Regions from separate parts of the Homo sapiens genome. Here all the other regions are linked to region 3. The links are contacts of gene promoters, found by promoter capture Hi-C in blood cells and fetal thymus (Javierre and others, 2016). All regions are on one chromosome and are shown on one strand. Each heading gives the region's core, a stretch centred on a gene start or on the middle of the fragment in contact. The rest is flanking DNA. Distances are from core to core; before and after follow the strand shown.

What was found. Contacts are between HindIII fragments. The CHiCAGO score rates a contact against its expected background, and 5 or more counts as called.
Region 1: a fragment that was not itself captured here is called in contact with the fragment with the promoter of CHMP4A in region 3 in 1 of 17 cell types (naive CD8 T cells); the score reaches 6.1 in naive CD8 T cells.
Region 2: a contact is called between a fragment that was not itself captured here and the fragment with the promoter of CHMP4A in region 3, in 1 of 17 cell types (activated CD4 T cells). The highest score is 6.4, in activated CD4 T cells.
Region 4: a contact is called between a fragment that was not itself captured here and the fragment with the promoter of CHMP4A in region 3, in 1 of 17 cell types (non-activated CD4 T cells). The highest score is 7.9, in non-activated CD4 T cells.
Region 5: a contact is called between a fragment that was not itself captured here and the fragment with the promoter of CHMP4A in region 3, in 1 of 17 cell types (non-activated CD4 T cells). The highest score is 6.0, in non-activated CD4 T cells.

Annotation. Positions count from the first base shown.
Region 1 is chr14:21,483,543-21,486,242 of GRCh38, forward strand. All of the region lies in intron 2 of TOX4 (TOX high mobility group box family member 4), which reads left to right. Among named protein-coding and RNA genes, the nearest start is that of TOX4, 7.7 kb to the left of the region's middle. The HindIII fragment of the contact is 3,821 bases long and covers 1-2,700 here.
Region 2 is chr14:21,464,419-21,467,118 of GRCh38, forward strand. All of the region lies in intron 5 of RAB2B (RAB2B, member RAS oncogene family), which reads right to left. LOC124903283 (a long non-coding RNA gene) reads left to right here. Exons shown (of 2, transcript XR_007064064.1): 2 at 1,099-1,452. Among named protein-coding and RNA genes, the nearest start is that of CHD8, 9.6 kb to the left of the region's middle. The HindIII fragment of the contact is 159 bases long and covers 1,282-1,440 here.
Region 3 is chr14:24,212,236-24,214,935 of GRCh38, forward strand. CHMP4A (charged multivesicular body protein 4A) reads right to left here and starts at 1,253. Exons shown (of 6, transcript NM_014169.5): 1 at 1,174-1,253. The coding sequence starts at 1,204. It overlaps NEDD8-MDP1 (NEDD8-MDP1 readthrough), which reads right to left. Exons shown (of 7, transcript NM_001199823.3): 5 at 2,257-2,364; 6 at 2,075-2,160; 7 at 1,708-1,916. The coding sequence ends at 1,789. It overlaps MDP1 (magnesium dependent phosphatase 1), which reads right to left. Exons shown (of 6, transcript NM_138476.4): 4 at 2,257-2,364; 5 at 2,075-2,160; 6 at 1,708-1,916. The coding sequence ends at 1,789. RefSeq lists enhancers at 662-781, 736-1,544, 972-1,471, 1,108-1,402, 2,557-2,700. The HindIII fragment of the contact is 5,751 bases long and covers 1-1,945 here.
Region 4 is chr14:21,386,933-21,389,632 of GRCh38, forward strand. The region is part of intron 37 of CHD8 (chromodomain helicase DNA binding protein 8); the gene reads right to left. All of the region lies in intron 1 of LOC107984643 (a long non-coding RNA gene), which reads left to right. Among named protein-coding and RNA genes, the nearest start is that of SNORD9, 4.0 kb to the right of the region's middle. The HindIII fragment of the contact is 7,320 bases long and covers 1-2,700 here.
Region 5 is chr14:21,432,464-21,435,163 of GRCh38, forward strand. The region is part of intron 1 of CHD8 (chromodomain helicase DNA binding protein 8); the gene reads right to left. Among named protein-coding and RNA genes, the nearest start is that of CHD8, 22 kb to the right of the region's middle. The HindIII fragment of the contact is 1,326 bases long and covers 779-2,104 here.

The DNA of each region.
Region 1 (2,700 bases), core at 94-2,593, 2.7 Mb before region 3:
GGCTCACACTTGTAATCCTAGAACTTTGGGAGGCCAAGGTGGGAAGATCACTTGAGCCCAAGAGTTCAAGGCTGCAGTGAGTGGTGATGGAGCCATGCACTCAGCCTGGGCGACAGGGTAAGACCCTGTCTCAGAATTAAAAAAAACAACAACAAAACAACATACATAAATACATGATTTGTGTACTACTGAGAAAAGTTCAGTTCTTGGGGAAAGTTTCAGTTTTTCCCATCAAGAACTGCGTGGTATTTTTTGTTATTTGTGTGTGTGTGTGTGCGCGTGTGAGACAGAGTCTTGCTCTGTCATCCAGGCTGGAGTGCAGTGATGTGATCTTGGCTCACTGCAGCCTTCAACTCCTGGGTTCAAGCGATTCTCGTGCCTCAGCCACCTGGGTAGCTGGGATTACAGACGCACACCACCACACCCAGCTAATTTTTGTATTTTTAGTAGAGATGGGGTTTTCCATGTTGGCCAGGCTGGTCCCGAACTCCCGACTTTTCAAGTGATCCACCCACCTTGGCTTCCCAAAGTACTGGGATTACAGGTGTGAGCCACCACTACCAGCTGAGAACTGTGTGTTCTTATGCTCCGTGTGCTACTTATATCTCAGACAACGACCAGATTTTTTACCATACCAAGTAAAATAGTAAGGAGAAGGGAAACTGTACATATATCTTTTTGTCTTTTAGGAAACTTTTACAAATGTGATTCAGAGATTGGGCATTTCACAGGCACACTTTTTTCTCCCTAGTTTCTGCTAGCTGGAAATTTTCTTTCTAGCAATGTCTTTTTTTTTTTTTTTTTTTTTTTTTTTTTTTTTTTTTGAGACAGAGTCTTGCTCTGTCACCCGGGCTGGAGTGCAGTGGCACAATCTCGGCTCACTGCAGCCTCTGCCTCCTGGATTCAAGTGATTCTCCTGCCTCAGCCTCCTGATGTAGATGGCATTACAGGCACCTGCCACCACACCTGGCTAATTTTTGTATTTTTAGTAGAGATGGATTTTCGCCATGTTGGCCAGGCTGGTCTCGAACTCTTGACCTCAGGTGGTCCACCCACCTCGGCCTCCCAAAGTGCTGAGATTATAGGCATGAGCCACGGCACCCGGCCTTTATTTTCTTTCTTTTTCTTTTTTTTTAGACATGGTCTTGGTCTGTCGCCCAGGCAGGATTGCAGTGGTGCAGTCTTGACTCACTGTGACCTCTGACTCCTGAGTTCAAGTGATCCTCGTGCCTCAGCCTCTCGAGTAGCTAGGATTATAGGTGTGTGCCACCATGCCTGACTAATTTTTTGTTCTTTTGGTAGAGACGGGTTTCACTGTGTTGGCCAGGCTGGTCTCGAACTCCTGGCCTCGTGTGATCCGCCCACCTGGGCCTCCCGAAGTGCTGGGATTACAGGCGTGAGCCACTGCTCCCAGCCTAATGTCTTCATTAAACCAGAATTAGAGGCTGGGCGCTGTGGCTCATGCCTGTAATCCCAACAGTTTGGGAGGTCAAGGCAGGGTGATGGCTTGAGCCCAGGGGTTCAAGACCAGTCTGGGCAATATGGCCAGACCCAATCTCTACAAAAAATGCAAAAATTAGCCTGGCGTCATGGCCAGGCGTGGTGGCTCACGCCTGTGATCTCAGCACTTTGGGAGGCCAAGGAGGGCGGATCACCTGAGGTCGGGAGTTCAAGACCAGCCTGACCAACATGGAGAAACCCCGTCTCTACTAAAAATACAAAATTAGCCGGGCATGGTGGCACATGTCTGTAATCCCAGCTACTAGGGAGGCTGAGGCAGGAGAATCACTTGAACCTGGGAGGCGGAGGTTGCGGTGAGCTGAGATCACGCCATTGCACTCCAGCCTGGGCAACAAGAGTGAAACTCTGTCTCAAAAATAAAATAATAATAAAAATTAGCCTGGCATGGTGGTGTGCACCTGTAGTTACTTGGGAACCTGAGGTGGGAGAATCACTTGAACCCAGGAGGCGGAGGTTGCAGTGAGCAATATCACGCCACTGCATTTTATCATGGGTGACAAAGGAGACTCTATCTCAAAAAAAAAAAAAACTGCCAGGTGCGGTGGCCCATGCCTGTAATCCCAGCACTTTGGGAGGCTGAGGCGGGTGGATCACGAGGTCAAGAGATCGAGGCCAACATGGTGAAACCCCGTCTCTATTAAAAAACACAAAAATTAGCTGGGCGTGGTGGCACACACCTGTAGTCCTAGCTACTCTGGAGGCTGAGGCAGGAGAACTGCTTGAACCCGGGAGGTGGAGGTTGTAGTGAGCCAAGATCGCGCCACTGCACTCCAGCCTGGGCCACGGAGCGAGACTCTGTCTCAAAAAAAAGAAAAAAAAAAAAAGACAGAAATGGTCATAATAGAAGAACATTTCAGGATCTAGAGGAACCTTGAGGTCTGTAAGCCCAACACTTTGGAGGCCGAGGCAGTAGGATTACTTGAGTCCAGGAGTTCGAGACTAGCCTGGGCAACACAGGGAGAGCTCGTCTCCACAAAAAATTTTAAAAATTAGCTGGGTGTGGTGGCACATACCTGTAGTCCCAGCTACTCGGGAGGCTGGGGCTGGAGGCTTGCTTGAGCCCAGGAGTTCCAGATCAGCTTGGGTGACAGGGCAAGACCCCATCTCAAAAAAAAAGAAAAGGAACCTTTAGGAACTCTATTTAAAGAATGCATTGTTCAATTATGAAAAAAAAAAATG
Region 2 (2,700 bases), core at 111-2,610, 2.7 Mb before region 3:
GAAAACTCTAGTTACTAGAAAGCAGAAAAGTCATAAGATGTCCCATCCAGCAGTGATGAGCATCTTCCTTTTTTACTGGAATCAAGCCACAAGAAGAGAATGAGCCAGGAATAAGGAAAACACAGTTGTCTTAAGTCTCACTGGTTTCGTTACTAGTGCATATAAAAGCAGCTTGCCACCAGGGAATTCAGAGACAGTGATATGGATAAAATTAGGTGAAAAAAAAGATAAGAGCTAAGGACTGAAAAAGGGAATAAAAATGGCAACAAAAGACCTTATGAAAAACAGGATAAAAGGCTGCAGAGCTGGGCGTGGTGGCTCATGCCTATAATCCCAGCACTGTGGGAGGCTGAGGCAGGAGGATTACTTGAGCCCAGGAGTTTAAGAACAGCCTGCACAATACAGTGAGACCCTGTCTCTACAAAAATTTAAAAATCAGCAGAGCGTGGTGACACATGCCTGTAGTCCCAGCTACGTGAGAGGCTGAGGTGAGAGGATCTCTTGAGCCCTGGAAACAGGTTGCCGTGAGCTGAGCACGTTACTGTACTCCAGCCTGGGCAACAGCACGAGACCTTGTCGCAAAAAAAAAACAAAACCAAAAAAACAAACTGAAGAATAAGGCAAGGTTGGGCTGTTTGTGATTCGTATTTTTCAATTTGAAAATTTTCATTTGGGAGGTTTCCAGTTTTCCAACTCCTTGGAAAAAAAGTGTAAGACCATTAAAGAACAACAAATCTACAATATTTTAATTTATTATACCATCAGCTGTGTGAAGACCAGGGAAGATCTAAATGTCAACCCTCCCAAATTTGTACCTCTAGCCCAGATGCTTGACTAAGCACCAGATTTGTACATTTGTGAATTCTTCATTTCCACACTGATACATAAAACGGACTTCAAACTTAACACATCAAAATGGAACTTCTTTTCCCCTAGCCTGTGTTTGCTGCAGGCTTCTGTATCTCAGTAAATGGCATAAGCCAAAAACCAAAGTGTTATTATTGATACCCTTTGCTCCCTACTCCAAATATCTAATCCATTCCAAAGTGAAGTACTTCCAATATGTACCTTAAAATTATCCTTTCTTTCTCTTTCCAGGGTCACTTCCTAGACCAAGCTACCATTCTTTCTCATGTGGACTATTGCAACTGGGATACTACTTCAGTCCTTGTTCTCCTCCAGAGTGATCTTTTAAAATCTGATCAAGCCACTTCTCTACTTAAAACTTTAAAATGCTTCAGGTGTATTTATTTATTATTATTTTTAATCCCCCATCTCCCAAGCTTCAATTTCCATGTATTTAGAATAAAATCCAAAACCCTTACTCAGGCCTCTAAGGTGCTATAAAATCTGGTCCCTACCTACTTTTCCAACCTCATCTTGCACTATTCCCTCTTGATTTAGTCCAATCACACTAGGTTTCTTTCAATAAACGTGTCAAGCTTCTTCCAAGTTCAAGGTGTTTGTATAGTTTGTTCCCCCCAAGTAATACCCTTTTAAAAAAATCTTTGCCCAGCAGGCTCTTGCCCATCCTTCAGATCCCAGCTTAATATCACTCCTAATCAAAAGTAGGTACCCTGTTATTCTTTCGTAGCACCCTTTTTCCTCCATTGCATTTATCACAATTTACAATTTGATACAAATAATTTTATATTTAACATCTATGCCCCCACTAGACTGTAAGCTGCACAAGAGCAGGGGGACGACTTTTTTCCACCTTGCAAACTCAGAATCTGGCACAGTCGTTTTCAATACATTGACTGATACACTAAAAATAATTAGCAGGATGGGTGTGGTGGCTCACGCCTGTAATCCCAGCACTTTGGGAGGCCGAGGCAGGCGGATCGCCTGAGGTCAGGAGTTCAAGACCAGCCTGATCAACATGGAGAAACCCCGTCTATACTAAAAATACAAAAAAATTAACTGGGCTTGGTGGCACATGCCTGTAATCCCAGCTACTCGGGAGACTGAGGCAGGAGAATCGCTTGAACCCAGGAGGTGGAGGTTGCAGTAAGACGAGATCATGCCATTGTGCTCTAGCCTGGGTGACAAGAGTGAAACTCCATCTCATAACAAACAAATGAAAACAAACAAACAAACAAAAAACCAATTAGCCTGTGGCCACAGTTCTCAAATAGTACACTCTGGGCACTACTACAAACTCACAAGGGTGCCATGGGATACCTCAAACTTTTGAGAAAAACACAGTAACACTCAACACAAGGATACTTACTACATGAATTACAAGCTTAAGACAGTTGCAATGTCAATATCAGACCATGATAAAATTCGTTCAATATCTTCATATCTCTGAGAAGCTGTTTCTGGCAGTTGCTGTTATAAAAAAGCAAGCACTACACAAAAATCAATATGAAATGGGAAATGAGAGTAGCAGTGTGCAATCGTGATTCCAAGGTTTGAGAAGCTATGCAGTGCCCAACAGACACATAGAGGTCTTTAGTAAGTAACTGTTGCTATTTAAGAATGAAATAATTTTTTTTTTTTTGAGACAAAGTCTCACTCTGTCGCCCTGGCTGGAGTGCAGTGGCACTATCTCAGCTCACTGCAACCTCCGCCTCCCGAGTTCAAGCAATTCTCCTGCCTCAAGCTCCCAAATAGCTGGGACTAGAGGTGCGTGCCACCACGCCTGGCTACTTTTTGTATTTTTTCAGTACAGACGGGGTTTCACCATATTGGCCA
Region 3 (2,700 bases), core at 3-2,502:
GGCATGTGCCACCATGCCTGGCTAATTTTTTGTGTTTTTAGTACAGACAGGCTTTCTCCATGTTGGTCAGGCTGGTGTCGAACTCCCAACCTCAGGTGATCTGCCCGCCTCGGCCTCCCAAAGTGTTTTGATTACAGGCATGAGCCACCGCGCCAGGACTTCTTTTTTTGAGACAGAGTCTCGCTCTGTTGCCCAGGCCAGAGTGCAGTGGCATGATCTCAGCTCATTGCAACCTCCGTCTCCCGGGTTCAAGTGATTCTCCTGCCTCAGCCTCCCTGAGTAGCTGGGACTACAGGCACACACCATCATGCCCACCTAATTTTTTTTTTTTTTTTTGAGAATGGAGTCTCCCTCTGTCACCAAGGCTGGAGTGCATTGGTGCAATCTTGGCTCACTACAACCTCCGCCTCCTGGGTTCAAGCGATTCACCTGTCTCAGCCTCCCCCAGTAGCTGGGACTACAGGCGCGTGCCACCACAACCAGCTAATTTTTTTTTTTTTTTTGTATTTTTAGTAGAGACAAGGTTTCACCATGTTGTCCAGGCTGGTCTCGAACTCTTGACCTCAGGTGATCCACCCACCTCGGCCTCCCAAAGTGCTGGGATTACAGGCGTGAGCCACCGCGCCCGGCCAATTTTTATATTTTTAGTAGAGACGGGGTTTCACCATATTGGCCAGGCTGATCTCAAACTCCTGACCTCATGATCCACCCACGTCGGCCTCCCAAAGTGTTGCGAGTACAGGCGTGAGCCCCCGCGCCGGGCTAAGAAGGCAGTCTTTCTTCTTCACCTTAGATCCCTCTTGCCCAGCACAAAGTATTATAGAACAAGGTTTTGAAAATGGCTGAAGACAGCAGGAAACTCGTCTTCAAGCCTGAACAGTGGGAGTCAGCACGATCGCCACGCCCTCAACTCAAGTCCCCTCCCAGATCTTGAGTTCTTCCCTCTGAGAGTGGGGGAGGACGGCGGACGGGAACAAGGCGCCCCGACATGGTGTGCCTTTTGGCACCGGCGATGAGCCTTGCTCCGCCATCGGCCGCCGGGGTTTTCCAGTCAGCCTGTCTCCTGATTCTCTTCCCCTGCCCGGCGCAGCGGTCCGGCCGAATCTCGCCGGGGTCTCCTCTTCCCCTGCACCAGCCAGCGCCTCCTGGCTGGCCAGTCCCACCCTGGCTCACCCTTCCCGAAGAGCCTGCCGAGACCACTCATCGCGAGCTCGCCTCTCCCGCCTCCGCCCCTCAGCGTCCTCCAGACTTCCGCCTTGCTCCTGGGAGGGTGATGTCTCATCACACAGGGACCAGCCTTGCCCAATCCGTCCTCAGGGCGCCGCCGCGACATCAAGAGGCGCAAACGAGACCACCGGTGTCACGTGACCCAAGCCACCAGCCCCAGACCGACGCGCTCCTCTTAAAGCTGCCACATCATTTTCTATTAAGTAAAAAGACAGTTCTATCTCCACCTGAGTACGTGCTTGTTCTCCGGAAGGAAATGTGCAGTGTGATGGCACCTCAGTGTATGGGGTCAGTGGGAAAACTTCATGCTCTTTACAGAGCTCAGGAAAGTGGGGTGGTATAGGTTCAAGCACTTGGGGTTGCCCTAAGTTTAGATGGCAAACCTGATGCAGTCTAATGTCTCACATTCTGGTCTCTGCACCTCAGGACAACCAACCCCATTTCACAGGCTAGAAAAATAGAAACTCCCCACACTGTGGGTAAAATCTCTTCTGTCACACACAGATGAACTTTAATAAATTACAAATGCACCTGAAAATGCCTTCTTGATTTCCTTTCAGTTTAGGCCTCAAATGGGCTCTCCTCAAGGCTGGACCTCAAAGGCCCAGTTTGGGCCTTCGCAAATGTCTCTAACCCTTGACTTAGAGTTTGAAGATTCATTCCATTCTGGATGTGAATGCAGGTAACACCTAGAAAGATAAGAAGTCACATTTCATTAAGCTTTCAGGGTTCTCCATTATTACTCTGACCTTTGTGAGTGCCACCTATAGGGCAAACTATCCAACCTGTATGTATCTACCTAATCCCTCCTAGGGACCCCAAATGGCTGTTCCTCATCACTCAGTACCCAGTTTGCTGACGTCTACAATATTCCGCCTCTCATCATCAAAGAAGATCATCTGGGAGAAAGGAATTCCAGTCTTCTGCTGCAACCTATTCAAGACAGGGCAGGAGTAACCAAGCTAGTATCTTGGTTTCCCAGGCCTCTCTGATACTTTCTCACCCTGCTCCTCCCTTATCTCCGCATACCTCTCAAAGTGTGTGATCTTGCTGCCTGGATAGATTTCCCGATGAACAAAGTACCTGAAGAGGTCAAAGAGCTCCAGTAGCTGGTTGGCCCCTTCTATCTCACTTGTCCTGCAAAACGGTGTAAAAGATGGGATTAGCAAAGTGAAGGGCCAGGGCTACGTTAACTTATTAAGCAAAGTTAGTAAGTATAACCAGGGAAATCAACTTGCTGTTTTTCCGGGATGGACAGGCATCCTCAGCCTCTGTTTAACTCCATTGCCTTCCTATTTGACACAATTGGTGCTGGGCCAATGTTTTAGCTTTTGTTTTGAGACAGGGTCTAGCTCTGTTGCCCAGACTGGAGTGCAGCGACCCAATCACGGCTCACTGTGGTCACGACCTCCTGGGCTCAAGTGATCCTCCCACCTCAGCCTCCCAAGTAGCTGGGACTACAGGTGCACGCCA
Region 4 (2,700 bases), core at 167-2,666, 2.8 Mb before region 3:
ACATCAAAGCAGGGTAAATTCAAGACAGATCAGATAAAGATTTCTACATGTCTAGAACACCAAAAAACTGTCAGAAACTCCTCACTAAATTTAATAAAATAATTTTTGTTCCACATTGATAAAAAACTTACATATCTGAATTTTAAATGGCTTCTTCTAGATGTTCTGACTAAAAATTCTGATTAAGTTCATTGAAGATAGAAGTTATTCCTGCAGGTCCCAAGAATAACGTAGTGCTAGATTCACTGTCAATTCTATATTAAGAATTCTGGGCCAGGCGTGGTGGCTCATGCCTGTAATCCCAGCACTTTGGGAGGCTGAGGCAGGTGGATCACTTGAGGTTAGGAGTTCAAGACCACCCTGGCCAACATAGCGAAACTCTGTCCCTACTAAAAATACCAAAATTAGCCGGGAGTCAGCCAGGCGTGGTGGCTCACGCCTGTAATCCCAGCACTTTGGGAGGCTGAGGGCAGGCGGATCACCTGAGGTTGGGAGTTCGAGACCAGCCTGACCAACATGGAGAAACCCCATCTCTACTAAAAGTACAACAAATTAGCTGGGCGTGGTGCCGCATGCCTGTAATCCCAGCTACTGGGGAGGCTGAGGCAGAAAAATCGCTTGAACCCAGGAGGCGGAGATCGCGGTGAGCAGAGATCACGGCATTGTACTCCATCCAGCCTGGACAACAAGAGTGAAACTCTGTATCAAAAAAAAAAAAAAAAAAAAAGCTGGGTGTGGTCGTGCATGGCTGCAATCCCAGTTACTCAGGAGGCTGAGGCAGGAGAATCACTTGAACCCAGGAGGCGGAGGTTGCAGTGAGCTGAGATCATGCCACTGCACTCCAGCCTGGGTTACAGAACGAGACTCTGTCTCAAGCAAAAAAAAAAAAAAAAAAAAGAATTCTGTACTAGTCATATTAGGATTTTCTGTGATTTTCTATGATATTTCTTAAGAGTTTCAGTTGACTATAAGGGAGTAGCAGAAGTACTTGAGGTAAAAATAGGTAACAGTGAAGGAAAAGCCCTTCTTACAGGCTGCTCTATAATGTTAAATTAAAGACAGAGATGGCATTAGCCTTCTAGCCACCAGCCTTTCCCATATCAACCATTCTGTTTATTGCACTCTTGTTCTCATCGAGGCTAACAGGGAAAACTGAAACATTCTCCCATGGTAACACTTCCATTAATATAAAAATAAGCCTCATAAATCTACATATATTTTATGTTTCAAACTTGTTAAATGCAAAATATTGATAGTTTACTTTAAAATTAATTTTGTTAAAAGATATTCCATGTGGTTATATAGACACATAAATATATGTGTATGCACATAGTCAGCCTTCCATATCCATGGATTCAACCATCTGTGGATTGAAAATATTTGAAAACAACAAGAAACTAAAAAATAACAAGAGAAAATACTACAGATTTTAAAACAATACCGTGTAACAACTATTTACATAGTATTTATATTGTGTTAGGTATTATAAGTAATCAAGAGATTAAAGTGTATCAGAGGAAGTGTGTCGGTTACATGGAAATACTACATGATTTTATTTATTTATTTATTTATTTTTTGAGGCAGGGTCTCACACTCTATTGCCCAGGCTGGAGTGCAGTGGCATGATCATGGGTCACTGTAGTCTCAGCCTCTGGGCTCAAGTGATCCTCCTGCCTCAGCTTCCACATAGCTGATACTAGAGGACTGCACTACCACGCCCAGCTAATTTTTTGTAGAGATAAGGTCCCACTGGGGTCCCCAGGCTGGTCTTGAACTCCTGGGCACAAGTGATCCTCTTGCCTCAGCCTCCCAAAGTGCTGGGATTACAGGTAAGAGCCACCGCACCTGGCTCTACACCATTTTATATATAAAGGACTCGAGCATCCATGGATTTTGGTATCTGCAGGGGTCCTGGAACCAATCCCTCACAGATACCAAGGGATGACTGTATGTGTATAAAGATTTCTATAGAAGATCAAATGGGGGAATAATTAGATAAGGCAAGTATATACAAGTGCTAATCCATTTTAAATGACTCTATGTCATTTAAAACAATGATTTATGTATGCTTTAAAAATACAACTATTGACCAGGCGCTGTGGCTCACGCCTGTAATCCCAACACTTTGGGAGGCTGAGGCGGGTGGATCACAAGGTCAGTAGTTCGAGACCAGCCTGACCAACATGGTGAAACCCCGTCTCTACTAAAAATACAGAAATTAGCTGGGCATGGTTGCACACACCTGTAATCCCAGCTACTCGGGAGGCTGAGGCAGGAGAATCACTTGAACTTGGGAGGTAAAGGTTGCAGTGAGCTGAGATCAGTCCATTGCACTCCAGCCTGGGCAACAGAGCAAGACTCCGTCTCAGGAAAAAAAAAAAAAAATTACAACTATTGGCCAGGCACAGTGGCTCATGCCTGTAATCCCAGTACTTCGGGAGGCTTAGGCAGGTGGATCACCTGAGGTCGGGAGTTTGAGAACAGTCTGGCCAACATGGCAAAACCTTCTTTCTATTAAAAATACAAAAATTAGCTGGGTATGGTAGCATGCGCCAGTGGTCCCAGCTACTTGGGAGGCTGAGGCAAGAGAATCACTTGAACCGGGGATGCAGAGCTTGCCGTGAGCTGAGATTGTGGCACTGCCCTCCAGCCTGGGTGACAGGGCAAGACTCTGTCTCAAAAAAATAAAAGATTAAAAAA
Region 5 (2,700 bases), core at 192-2,691, 2.8 Mb before region 3:
AGAAAACTTTCTCATATTTAAGATAAAAAAGGTCAATTGCAAGGGATTCAACATTGTTTCCAATTTATATTCCCAACTTCCTCTTACCATCTCTTACATATATTTTACATTCCAGTCCAACTAGACTACACAATTCCCTTAATGTGATTCCTACCTGTGTGACTTTGCTTATGATGCTGTGCTTTCTGCCTGGAACACGTCCTCTCCATCCCAATGCCAATAATCTCTCGCAGCTAAAATCCTACCAACCCTCAAAGGTCTTCTACTCCATTAAGTGAGCCCTGAACCTCTGACGCTTTAACAACTGAGCAACTTGTGATGACTTGATCCCTCCACCTCCTTTAAATACCCACACCATTGTTTATACCTTAAAACACTTATATTTAATATTTTATTATAATGACCTAAGTCTGTAATATATCCTCTGAAGGCCCAAATGGTTCCTTTGCGCAAATTGTAAAAAGTTGCCCACTTCTCAAGATGCCTGGAAAACTGCCATACTAAATATATAAAAATTTGTTATGAATGTATGCAATGTACACCCTCCACAACTCTGTACCATGGCCCAGCTCCTCTTTCTCTGGGAGAAAGTTCTTGGATGGTGGGGACTATGTTTTATTTATCTGTGGATCCCCTAAGAACCAGCAGGACATAGCACATATAGTAGCTAATCAAAAAACAGTTAATGAATTATACTTGCTCGCATTATCTGGAGTAAACCATTCGATCCTCACAGAAACTAAATGGTATCCTTTGATTCTAACATGAGATGGTAAAAAGCTTCCTATCTTGAAAACATGTCTTATGAATGGCTGAAAGTAGGTTCACAAAATCCATGTCTAGGGTTTTAAGTTCATGAAACTAGTGGAAAAAAGAAAAGCTATCAAAGACAGGGAAGTATATCACCATAAAACCCAAATATATGAAAAAGAAATATCTGTTCTTTGTATATGATGACAGTATTTGACAATACAGGAAAGTCTTGCTTGGTAAGACCATTTCTCCTAACTTTTGGAAGACACCAGATAAGAAATTTGTCAGAGGCACAGTCCTGACTGAAGGAGACTTTTCCATATAACCCCCATGCTATGTTTTTTCCTTCCCAACCCATCTCACTTATCCTTATAAAACAATATAATATGGGTTAATATATCAGATACTCCAAAACAGACAAAGAGAACAAACACGTGAGTCAAAATTACAAAGTATACATGGTATCTCCAACAATGTTAAACAAGATCGTCCTTGCTTCAGTAATTGCATACTTTTCATATCTCAACCCAAGATCCATACCATCTCCCATTCCTGGCTAGCCTATTCCACCAGCTCATTCCAGCCTCTCATATCTAATATTTGCCTCCAAATTACTCAAAATGGCAATCAGGAAAGTTATGAATGCTTCCTGATTTAACGAAAACCTACTCAATAACTTGATATTAATAAATTTCCTTCCCATTATCATCAGCTTTTTTCCAGTATACCTACTTTGGCACCAATTATTTTTCATTCTCTACTCACCGTCAGAAGTTAAAGTATCTACAGCTAGGAGTAATATAAAAACAACAGTGAAAGTTTCTTTTTTTTTTTTTTTTTTTTTCTGAGACAGAGTTTCACTCTTGTCGCCCAGGCTGGAGTGCAATGGCGCGATCTCGGCTCACCGCAACCTCTACCTCCTGGGTTCAAGCGATTCTCCTGCCTCAGCCTCCCGAATAGCTGGGATTACAGGCCTGCGCCACCACACTCGGCTAATTTTGTATTTTTAGTAGAGACAGGTTTTCGCCACGTTAGTCAGACTGGTCTCGGACTCTCGACTTCAGAGGTGAGCCGTCGCCTCAGCCTCCCAAAGTGCTGGGATTATAGGCATGAGCCACCACGCTGAAAGTTTCTACTAACCAGAAGTTTACGTTGCAAATAGTTTATAGCCTGCTCCTTATTCCATGGAGTATTTTGTCGCTTCCATGATTCCTTGCTATTTGTTAATTCTAATGCTCTTCCTTTCCCCCATAATGATCCAATCTTAGGCCCAGATTTTTTTTTTTTTAAATAGGAGAAACAAGGCTGATGGTTTCTGATGAATCTCCTTACCCCCATATGACTTAGTATAAGCTTTTTAAAGATCAATGCATTGTCATTTATCTCTCCCTTCCCAATTTTCGAACCAAATTTCTGCTTCTTCTAGTTCGGTCTATGCCTAATAATTCAAAAACCTTGCCACCAAGTATCATTACTTCTCAGTCCCATCATTCTCACCTATACTGACCCAATTCATCTCATATTTTTATGCTAGTTTCCTACTTCTTTTCTAGTTCCTATCTTTAAACTGTCCTTGACTCTTACAAGATTAAACCTTCTCCCAACATACATCTAACTTTTTTTAACCCTCCTTCTACTACTACTTGTGGGTCACCCTGGCTATATCCACATACGGCCTATTTATTCTACCAAGCTCATCTATCTCATGAATCCTCTCAACCATCTCATGAATTCTCTTTCCTTGATTCAAACCCTAATAGCAAAAATGAACAGATGTTAAGTTGGTTTCAATGCAAAGTAACTGCCTAGATAAAGAAGTCACACCAACTTTTATCATATTAAGAATGAAAAGCCAGTGTTGGCCCACCAGTCCCCAAAAGAGAAACACATGTATGTGCTCAAAAGGAAAGACAAAACTTAGTGGTTGTACTTAGTCACTTTCCATAA